Regions from separate parts of the Homo sapiens genome. Here regions 1 and 3 are each linked to region 2. The links are contacts of gene promoters, found by promoter capture Hi-C in blood cells and fetal thymus (Javierre and others, 2016). All regions are on one chromosome and are shown on one strand. Each heading gives the region's core, a stretch centred on a gene start or on the middle of the fragment in contact. The rest is flanking DNA. Distances are from core to core; before and after follow the strand shown.

Region 1 (3,626 bases), core at 117-2,616, 680 kb after region 2:
TACAATTTAGATTTTAACTGCATTTGACATTTAATTAAGGTCTGCAAAGGTTTTGAAGATGAAATGCCATATAATCATTTGATAACAATGAAGAAAATGACTATTCCTAGCCTCTTCTTTCCTGTCTTACCAATTACAGTCCTTCCTCTTTTGCAAAATTCTTCACATTACCAATGAATTCTTACACAAATCCCCGAGTTTTATTGTGTCCTCTCCCTTTAGCAGTTTTGCTCCTAACAGAACCTTTCTTTACATAAGTTCTTAATTCACTTCTAATTCACTGAGATAAACACCATGCTTAATGCTGAATCTAAGAAGTCTTTCAGAGAGAATGTAAAATGAAGCTTCAAGATGATACAAGCCATAAACATTGCTCCTGAGTTTTCTCCATTCCCAGCTCTGCCATTATCTGACTCAGAGACCTTGGACAAACTGCTTATCTTTTTTGGTCAAGTCTCAGGTTGTTCATATATAAAATTATGGCAAAGATCCTTTCTAGCTTTAAAACTTGATGTTTCTCTATTTGTATTTTATTTCCAAACCAGACAGACACACTGAAAGAAACTTACACTCTTCAACTATAGCATAACATTCCAGACAATTGCTTCACATGGCCCCTCCATTGCCAAAATTAAATCTGCAGGCCCCAACTGATTGTGAACTTGTGTTTCTCATCAACTGTACTCATTTTTTTTGGATCACCTGCTATAAAGCAATCTTTTTTTTTTCTAGTTTTTCTTCCCTAGGGAAATGTATGTTGGTTCCAGGCATGTGTCGACATACTCCCTTAAGACCAGCAAGCAAAAAGTTCATTTGCTTTTCCCATTGTCTCTACCATCAATAAATTATTCTTATTTGCTCTTAAAGGTACTTCTGTCTCTTCCACTTATTCCTTACGTGCCCACTACTACAATGGGCTACCTCTGGCGCAATTTCCCTTTCAAACTCTCCTGTTTTCATGAATTTTTAACCTATTTTGCCCTCACTCAGTAATGTAACAGCATTCCTCAGTTGCTGCGGCTTTGTCCTTCCACAGTCATCTCTGCCAACCTTGATTATACTCTGGAAGCCCTAAATCAACCATATCAAATGTCTAAATCTTGATATATCCTATTAAAGTAGAAATCAGAAACCCTTGCATCTGCAGTACGGTGAACACTGTTTCCACTAGCTTTGTACGAACTCTTCTCTCCGTACCCAAAATTTTTACCTCGTTTGCAGCCCCTAAATCAGGGGCAGGACAGTAGGCAGTTCCTGGCAAGGAAGCGGTTACCTATTTTCAAGCAAGACGGAAGAAATGCCCATCAGTTTAAGTTTGCTAACATCCCAAATATATTTTTTCCCTAGGGTACAGGGACAATAAAGTTCTTCTTTACCACTCCCAAAACAAAATCCTACCAAAATTGTGATCTTCTAGATTTGCCCTAGTCAGATATATTGTCCCTCTTACAGTGCCAAATTTCTCACACAGAAATGTGCTTCCTCATTTTAGAAAAACAATATAAAAGACCTTATGGAACATAATTAAAATATTTAAATCTGTCTTAATCTACTATTTAGATACTGTAGACATCTGGTAGACCCTAAAAGACATCTAAAAGACCCCAATGTTGTTAGGGAGAAACTAGCAACATTCATGCCAGAACAAACTCATGTTAGAAAACACTGACTTATTTCTTGTTCAAGGGAGCTGGTCCCCATTTTACAGATCCTGCAGGAACTTCAGAAAATACTGAGCAGTGCTGGATGTTATCAATTTAACAGAACTTGCCTGTGCAGGGCACTTTCTACTTTTCAAAGCACATCTATTATCTCGGGAACTTCACAAACCTCTAGTGAGGTAGGCAGGTCAGGTATTATTCCACTTTGCATGTGAGAAATGAAGATTCACAGGATAAAGTAACCAGCTCAAAGCCACAGAATTCTTCAAAGTGGGTTCAATTTCATAGTACAGGCTCCCAGATTTGCATGTACATATATATGTACACAAACATGCAGCCTGACACTGACGTACATGACTCATGTTTATGATGCAAACATCCTAGAATAAAATTAGGGAAACGTTCAAATAGTCCCCTGTTGTCAATTTCCTCTAGTTCTACTATTACCCTAAGCTGCTCTCGTTTCTCTGTTTTAATACTTGGTAGGCTCCCAAGTTATTTCTACTTTTATGCTGATGGAAAAAAACGCACCAGACTATCTCATGTCACCCACTCCTCCACATCTCCCACTTCCAAACTTCTAAGAGCCTAGAAACACATCAAAGGTAATGAATGAATGAGTAATTCAAAGATTCTCCTCAGTGAATGCTCAAAGGACTGCTGATTTTCATCAATAGCACAAAGGATATTTTGTAGAACCTTTTCCTTGAATGTCAAGGATATTTTATTAAGCTTAAGACATATCCAGGTAAAGCTAGTTCATCAAAGGTTTCACTCTCCTAAGTCTACTTGCGAGGTCCTCCTTCATCCTACACCCTGGGCAAGTCCAGCACATGGCCCATGGTCTCAAACCTACAGCAATAAGCGAGCTGCTGGCCCTTCTGATCTCAGGGACGAGATTCAAAATTCTAACTAATAGAATCTAATATTCATGTAGATTAACTTTATAGTGCCTTGTACTAGGTAGGTTCCCAACTTCAAGAATTCAATAGAATCAACTGTTTCACAAATTAGTATAGCAAAGTAATCTCTAAAGAAAGTTTAGGCATTTTAGTTTTTAATCCTACCAGTGAATTGAAACACCAATTTCATTTCCCAGTAACAATGTAATCCTTCACTATTTAGATGATAAAACTTTGTAAGTTTTAAGGGGGGGGTGTTACATAAACACCCCCTTATGAATCTGATAAAAACTACAGACCCTATCTTTAGAAAACTACGCACTTGACGCCCACATACAATTTTACATACAATTTCATGGGGTTATGAAACCCCCAGCACCTACCCATGAATCACAAGTTAAGAATCCTGGTGTAAAAATAACCAAAGGTATAAAGTTAGGAAAGGTGGGAAAATGAAACATAGGACCAAAAGAAAAGTTGGAAGAGGATGGAGGAGAGGACAGGAGATGCCGTAGCAGTGAGTAACTCTGGAAGTGGGTATAGGACTACGTGGCTCTGTACTTCAAAGTGCTCTCACTTCTTACATTTCATTTGATCTTTACAGTAACTCATTCAACAAAATGGATCAGTTGTTATAGCATACCTCCCCCCACTCCCTGCCAACTTTAAAGAGAAAAAAACTAATACTTGAATTGGTTATACAAGTTGCCCAAGGTCAAGTATCAGCACACAGCAAAACCAAGACCCAGTCCCAAGTCCTCAGGTTATTCTGTGTCATACCATTGGCTCCTAGGGAGAGAGGGAATTCAAAGGAAACAGAAGAAAGAAAAAAGACTGGAAAGGAAGCCCAGGAAACAGAAAGGAACTGGGTGAGAATAATATGATATAAAAAGTGAAAAGTGAAGCAAGAGAATGGAGAGGGAGATGAGGATGTAGTAGAGAAACTAAAAGGAGAAATAAGAACTTTCTGTCATCTTAAATATTATTAAAAAAAACTGTGCCTCCAACTTCTATCTGGTTATAAAAAGAGAGTGAAAAATTATCATCTCAAATCTCAAAACCT
Region 2 (3,866 bases), core at 1,120-3,619:
CATTTCTCAAGAAGGACTACTATTAAATATTTATCAAGCATCTATTATATACCAGGTCCTAGAACTACAGAAACAGATGGAATTCAGATTTTACTCTCAAATTGACTTATTCCACCCTTAAGCTTTAACAGAAATAACAACAACAAAAACTAAAACATTAAAAAATTCTATTAATAGCCTTTTTAAGAGTGGTGCAGTGGGAGGTAGGAAAGGAAGAGAAAGAAGTACAAAATCAGAAAGCTCTCTCTGATTAAATATGTCCAGCAATGTATTTAACCAAACAGTTAAGTCTTGCATGGATTATTTTCATCAAGATTAAGTCCATAATGAAATAATCATTGCCATCAAAACTGCTACCTCTGTGTAAACAGGCATAATTGAGCATTTCTCAAAATATTAATATATTCTAGAACCAAGAGGGTTGGGGGAGATGGGTTATCAAGGTCTTGGCTCTCTCTCCTAATATAACAGGGTACTGACATTAATTGAGAGGAAAACACCTAATTTGCCCTCCTGCAATCTCCAACTGTGGAGAATGTCAGGTAAATGTTTTAAATGCCATTCTGAACCCATTCTGAACTTCCTTTTACTAATTCAGTCTTTTATTCCCTTATCTTGACCTTATATCAGGAAATTATCCAACTCTAACATTTACACGTCAGAGAGAACAGGCACCACTTAACCTTATCAGAATATAATAGGTTCATATAAAAGATTTTATACTCTTGTCAGTCCCATGGCCAAATGCTGAGTAATGTCCACCTCCATGTTTTTCCTTTAATCTTTTTGTTCATGTTTTCTATGCCCATGCTTTTGAAGCTATCACTAGTGGTGATAGTGGCTGCCATCATAGGGAGGGCAGCTGTCTCAAGTTACTTTTCTTGAGGCCATCTATCAGCACCATAGTCTTGACCAATCCAACTCCAATTATTCTCAAATATCTGTCACAGTGAGATGGCATAGGTTCTATTTTAAATATGGAACATAATAAAACATTTAACCTGTAATGTAAAGTGAATGCCATAAAAATCTGTTTGGACTTTTGTAGTACGACTAGGTCAGAATTCACTTGTTAAAGAAATGCAGGTATCAGAACGGTCTAACCTTGCATTACTTGATTAATATGGTTTTCACTTCCGTCAACAGCTTCAGTTTAACATGCCATGGACTTTCCCCAATGTCATACAAACCAAAGCTTTGTAAATTAAATTATATTTTCTAACTAACATAAAAATTTCAGCATATGCTTGATTTCCAATCAATGTTGAACTGTTAAGTTTTCTAACTCAGACAAGTACAGCAGCTTCTCATTTTTTGAGACTGGCTCTGGCAGGAGCTCACTATTTAAAGAAATGCAACATGGAAGTATATTTCTACAATATGAATAGTGAGCCAACTTACTGTTCAAACCCCTAATGCTCTAATACTTGATTAAAAAAAAAACCTAATGCTCTGTACTTGATTTTAAAAAATAACAATAACATTTATTGATCACTTACTACATGGTCAGTCCTTCTGGCTGCTTTACATTGCATTTATTTTATTTAATCCTCACAACAGTAATAGTCCTCCTTGAGAAAATGTGTTTCATTATGGTAAAGGAATTTTAGTTATTCAGAAGCTCTAGGATTGGTGTAAATGGGCATACTTTAGATATCTTGAGGTCTTCCATAAGTGAGAATAGTAGCTTAATGTCTATACATTTTCCCTGTTTTACAGAAAGGGAAAATAGCAACAGGAAGGTTGAGTCACTTGTCCAAGATCACACAGTTCATAAGTGATGGAGCCAGAATTCCAACCCAGGGCGTCTGACTTCAGAGCCTAAAGCTCTCTCTTGTAAAACTGTGGAAGCTGATCACAGGCTGGAAAAGACTTCATATAAAAAACCTGGGCCCACCAAATATTTGTCAAGTTTTGTCCTGGCTGCTGAACCTAAAAATCTAAGGTAATCTTTCTCAAGTGTAAATTCGGGAAAACAATGACACTGATTTGGTGAGAAATTATTTGAGTTAATACATTTAGCAGGGACCTTGGAAGGCAGTAAGCCCTGGGAAAACTTTGTCTCTTGTCTTTGGCATCACCTCCGCGAAGCCTGGTGGGACGCGGCTGCCCCTGCGCTGTCTGTGCACCTCCTAAGAACCAGGAAGCGCGGTGACCTCCAAAGAACAGGACTGTCCCAAATCAAGCGGGATTACCACCGCCCCTCTCCCATTTAACAGCTGAGGACACTGAGGTCTAATGGATTCCAAGTACTTAAATAGGTGAGCGGCGCGCAGGGGCGAGTTGCAAGCCCTGGGATCCTTCCAGCTCGCCGCTTCCCCTCCCAGGGGCTCAGGTTTCTCTTTCATCTGTGAGGTCCTCTCCCGCCCGGACGCCGGGGCCCGCCATCCCCAACGTCCACCGCGAGCTCCCCAGATCCATGGTCTGGAGCAGGTCCAGAAGACGCACCTGGCAGGACGCCCCGGGCGCCACAGTCGCCCTCCACACGGGCCACCCCAATCCTGCCGCGGCTCCGTGGCTCTCCTTACCTTTACCTGAGGTGAAGCAAGGACGTGGAAGCAGCTACGGCGCGCTACCAAGCACCTCACACCGCTCTCAACAGTACTGCTCAGCCTCCCGGCCCGCCGATGCGCAGGCGACAGCAGCCAACTTGTAAGTCACCGCTGGTCGCAGCCAACTGGAAGGCACCCAGCGCCTCAGGGCAAGGCGGGCCGAGCCCCCAGCCCCGCCCCCTGGCCCGATCCCGGGGGCTCCGGGGAGGGGGGGCTGAGAGGAGGTGGCCGGAACAACGTGCGCTTGTTCGGATTGGCTGGCGCGGGAGCGTGTGGAGGGCTGATTGGTGGCCGATAAATGGAATGATTCCGCGTGGGTGTGGGCTGGCCCGAGCCGCGCCAGGGTTCCCTGGATGTCTGGGGTTGCCTGCAGGTTTGGATTGGTTGGGTTGGGTTGTCCTGTGATCACTTAATTGTGAAAGAATTTTGTCAAGCAGTAAACCGACTGGGAGAAATTGAAACAGAAGGCGAAGTGAAGGATCACAGTGAGGGATAAGGTCCAAATTCATCCCGCTTGTGGATATCCTAGTATCTCGCAACTACGCTACTCCTCCCAGGACTAAAAGTCAAATAAGAAAAAGCGCCCATGCAGAGGAGGACGAGCTCTCTGCCTCCTGCTTAGCCTGACTCAGAACTGAGAGAGCTGGGAAGGAAAATGCATATAAACGAAAGTCCCTGCCACTATGTGAATTGACCTTTAGCCAAATACGTTTGTGTGTGTGTGGGTGTGGGTGTGTGTGGGTGCGTGTGTGTGTTTCCATCCTCAGATAAAGAGTTTAGAGGGCAACCTTAGAAGCAGAGAAAAGGAGGAGGTGTGACAAGTGGATTTAGCAACTGCACAGTTTTGGAGTTTCCATCTACTCGAACATGAGAAAGATTTCTTCCAGTGGCTGTGAAGTCACCCATCTGATGGGATGCTTGGCAAACAGTGAATTTCTTCCTTTACCAGAGTAGCCATGATGCACTGATTAGCGAGGCTTGGTTTGTCTGCAAATTGCGTTTACTAAGATACGTAGTTTGAGAACCAAAAGCAGGGAAGAATGCAGTGCTACACCATTAGTGATTTCTGATAGACTTGCAATGAAAATAAATAATATTTCGTAAATTTTTAAGTCGGCCTCACCAAAAGAATTACCAAATACTACTTGCTAGTTATTATTGGCCGATTTATTTTTTACCTCCATCGTTTATATGTAAAATAATTTGTTTTATATTTATATTTATAATTTCGTGTGACATAATAGAAGAGTTCTTCGTGTGTTGTAAAGCTCCTTTCACTTAGGAATTATTGGCCAATTATTGAGGTGCTTTGGA
Region 3 (3,908 bases), core at 1,409-3,908, 590 kb after region 2:
CCCCACATTGGGATGAAACTCCTGGGGGTATATCAAATTGAGCAGGATAGTGTTAAGACAAAAGAGGAGAAGGGGCTTATGGAAAGAGGCCAGGAAATCTCAGAAAGCAAGACACTATCTTGCTTGGGTATACCTGAAAACAACAATAGGGAAAACTATGAGAAGTTAGAAATACTATCCTGGCCCATGTGTTTTAAAAGTTGAGAAAAACTAATTTCTCATAAAAATTTGGAGAGACAACAATTGAGGTCAAATTTCACGCCTTGATATAAGAAAAAAAAAAAGGCTAAGAAGCAGAAAAACACTACCAATAATGAAAGCATGCCAGAAAAATGTGCCCACATATCAGACAAACTACTTCAAAATGAGCTAATAGATATTAAGAAATAGTATAAGATATGAAAGAACATCAGAATCCAAAAAAACTCATAAATGAAGTGACAGCTCAAAAAATAATTCAAAATAAATTTTTTAAAAACCATTTTAGTAATGAAGAATAAACATGAAGGAGCAGAAAAGCAAATAGACATAGTATGTAATGTCTTATGAGAATGATAAGATGAAAAGAAGGATTATTTTCAAAATTAAAAGGGAATTAAGACAAAAATATAAAAGCAATGAAGACAGTTAAAAATGATTTAAGACAAAGTGGTAAATATTGAACATAAGCAAAGACAATTTATACTGATAAAAGGAGTCCCTGAAAAAAGAAAACCTAAGCAAGATTTGAGAACATTTACTAAAAACTATAATTTAATAAAACTTTCCTTAAAATTTTCCCAGCTGGGCACAGTGGTTCACATCTGTAAGCCCAGCACTTTGGGAGGCTGAGCTGGGAGGATTGCTTGAGCACAGGAGTTTGAGACCATCCTGGACAACACGGTGAAACCCCATCTCTACAAAAAACATTTTTTTTTAGTCAAGTATGATGGTTCATTCCTGTGGTCCCAGCTGCTTGGGAGGCTAAGGCAGAAGGATTACTTGCCCAGGAGGTGGAGGTTGAAGTGAGCCGTGTTCATGCCACTGCATCCCAGCCTGGGCGACAGAGCAAGACTCTGTATCAATTGAAAAAAAAAAAAATCCCCTAAACTACGTATGAAGGTTCATAATTACTAACAACAAGACATATGCTAGTAGAATTTCTGGAGTTTAAAGAAAAAGTGAAATATCCATTAGGCATTTAAAAAAAGAAGAACAAGTGACTTATAGAGGAAAGAAAACTAAATTGTATTCCTAGTGCTCAGATTGTGGTCTTAAAATATCATTTCTACTAGGGCATCTTACAGCATGATTCTCAGTAGGGGTGACATTGCCCCCAAAGGGGAAAAAATTGGTTTACGGGGGATGAAAAAAGTCTTACAATTGTTTGTGATCTTCCAAAGCTCAACCCAACCTGAAAAAAAATCTTATTTCTTAGTATTTAATTTAATTACTTTAATTTTAGTTATTAGATATTAATTTTAGCTTAATTAAAAAATTTTGATTTTTTCTTGGGGGGTGAAAATTTTTTGAGAGATTGAGATACAGTCTCAGATGGCTGATTACAGAGCTAGAACAAGAAATATATAAAATAAATCTGGAATATTTTGTCACGCCAGATAAGAAGCCACTATCAAAGATTATTAGGGTTACATCCAAAAATTCAAGAACTTGGAGAGACTTCCACTGGTTAAAGATGAGCTTCAATAAAGACAATAATTGCCATGAATTGAAATCTACCAAACATATTTAAGCCATAAGTTTATAATGATACTAAAAAGTAGTCATTGGTCACCTTCAGAGATTGATAAGAAACTAATTCCTTATCTCAAATTCTACCTTTCTATTATGCCCTATACCACTGGGTAATGATTATTTTTGAACTCAATGAATTAAGAGATATAGTATGTTCACATGACAAAAATAGAGACAACCAGACATTCTGTGCCTCCCATAGTTTTTGCAAATACCACCAAGTCTTGCAGAAGGCATCATATGATCCGTTGTTGTCATAAAAAACTTAAGAACAGCTTGAAGGTTCTTACTGGCCAAAACTGTATCAATTTCAGCATTAAAATTAATAGTGATAATAAAGTGTTCCAATCTGTGCATCCAAGCTCATAGAAATATGTAGGAATATATATTTCTTTTTAATAAATATTAAAGAAATAAGAGAATTTAAAAATTGCAGCCATCATAGTAATAATTGAATCAGGCAAGAATCAACAATGGGTACTAAAAGTAATAGGAGATAGTTTGCTGAGAAACATTTATATAAACTCAACATTTCTCCACACAAAGTACTTAACTAATTACAAAGGGGAAGGGGAAAATATAATTATTTCACAGAAGAGAAAACTGACAGACACCACTTCAAACCAATGATTCAATTTAACATCACCAAAAATGGGACAAATTGACATTGTATATCTCCTGATATGATACATCGTGAAGAACAGAGTACTTGTGTAATATTCCTGCCAAAAATTCATAAATAGAATTTAATCGTGAAGAAATACTGAACTCCTAAATTAGGCGACATTCAACCAAAGCAAAAAAATAATATGTATACCTTAAAAATGTCATAGTTACAAAAGACAAGAAAATACTAAAACTATTCTAGACCAAACAAAACTAAAGAGACATGACAATTAAATGCAACATGTAATTCTAGATTAGGTCTTGCATCCATTTGCTATAGGGTATTATTGGAACAATTAGCAAAATGTAAGTAGGGTCTCTGGATTCAATGGCAGAATTGTGTCAATGTTAATTTTCTCTTTCAGTTGGTTATACTGTGATTACCTGGGTTGTATAGTGGTTACTTCAGAAACTGCATACTGAATATTAGAGGAAATAAGGCATCTTGACTGCAATTCACTGTAAATTTGTTCAGAAAAGAAATTGTGGGCAGTGGTTGGTGGGGTGGGGGCGGCAGGGGCGGTGCCAAAGAGCGAGACAGAATGATAAAGTAAATGTGGTAAAATGTGAACAATTGGTGAAACTGACTCAGGAGTATAGGGTGGCTCTTTGTTCTTGCAACTTATTTGAAAGTTTGATATTATTTCAAAATAAAACGTTGAAGAAAAAAACCTCTCTGTCAAACAACTTTTAGGTCAAAGAAGAAACCCAAAATCACAGAATGTCTTTAATGACATTAAAAACACTATATTACAACAAGGATTGTGCCTATTTCATAGGGCTAATCTGAGACTTAAATGAAATTTGAAAGTGCTTAGGAAGTATTTATTAAATGATGCATTCTCAACAGAGAGTATATTACCTCCCAAGAGGTGAAAATTGGTTCTTGGGAAGTGAAAAATATTAGACATTAAAATCATTTGTGGTTGACCAAAGCTCAACTCTATTCAACAAAATTTTATTCTTCACTATACCATTTTTTATTAATGATAAATTTAAATTTTTTCTTTTTAAAAGGACAATAATGAAATAAAGGTTGAAAATTATTACCAAGAAAACTCCAATATGCTACATAGCCTGTGAAGAAAATATATGGCCTCAAATACTTACATTGTTAATTTAAAAAAAAGAAAATCTAAGCATTACATTCAATAGATTAGAACAGGCAAACAAAACAATCCCATAAGAAAAAGCAATAAAATAATAAGTGTAAAACCAGAAATTAATGAATTTTAAAAACCAAAAAATGAGCAGAACTAATAAGGTCAGGTTAAAACAGTAAAAAAAAACACATACAAACTGACTCAAAAAAACATGCAAGTTACAAAACAACACACAGAGTATATTCTACACATCTTACACCCTACCTCACACCCTCATGACCCACCTTTGCCAACAGCCATTGCTATGGAAACAAAATGCATGCAGGTGTAGCATGTCCCTCATCTCTACCAGGGGTTTTCTACAACTATGGTCAATATAAAACAGCTGTCCGAGAGCTGGCAGAT

The links. The method cuts DNA at HindIII sites, captures the fragments that hold promoters and counts their contacts. A CHiCAGO score of 5 or more calls a contact.
Region 1: a fragment that was not itself captured here is called in contact with the fragment with the promoter of STARD4-AS1 in region 2 in 1 of 17 cell types (monocytes); the score reaches 6.5 in monocytes.
Region 3: a contact is called between a fragment that was not itself captured here and the fragment with the promoter of STARD4-AS1 in region 2, in 1 of 17 cell types (monocytes). The highest score is 5.1, in monocytes.

Annotation. Positions count from the first base shown.
Region 1 is chr5:112,187,500-112,191,125 of GRCh38, forward strand. All of the region lies in intron 17 of EPB41L4A (erythrocyte membrane protein band 4.1 like 4A), which reads right to left. Among named protein-coding and RNA genes, the nearest start is that of SNORA13, 28 kb to the left of the region's middle. The HindIII fragment of the contact is 2,049 bases long and covers 343-2,391 here.
Region 2 is chr5:111,509,857-111,513,722 of GRCh38, forward strand. It overlaps STARD4-AS1 (STARD4 antisense RNA 1), which reads left to right and starts at 2,370. Exons shown (of 7, transcript NR_040093.1): 1 at 2,370-2,652. It overlaps STARD4 (StAR related lipid transfer domain containing 4), which reads right to left and starts at 2,679. Exons shown (of 6, transcript NM_139164.3): 1 at 2,529-2,679. RefSeq lists enhancers at 2,314-2,523, 3,004-3,143 and a silencer at 2,554-2,923. The HindIII fragment of the contact is 3,364 bases long and covers 1,194-3,866 here.
Region 3 is chr5:112,100,651-112,104,558 of GRCh38, forward strand. No RefSeq gene overlaps it. Among named protein-coding and RNA genes, the nearest start is that of EPB41L4A-AS1, 58 kb to the right of the region's middle. The HindIII fragment of the contact is 5,460 bases long and covers 1-3,908 here.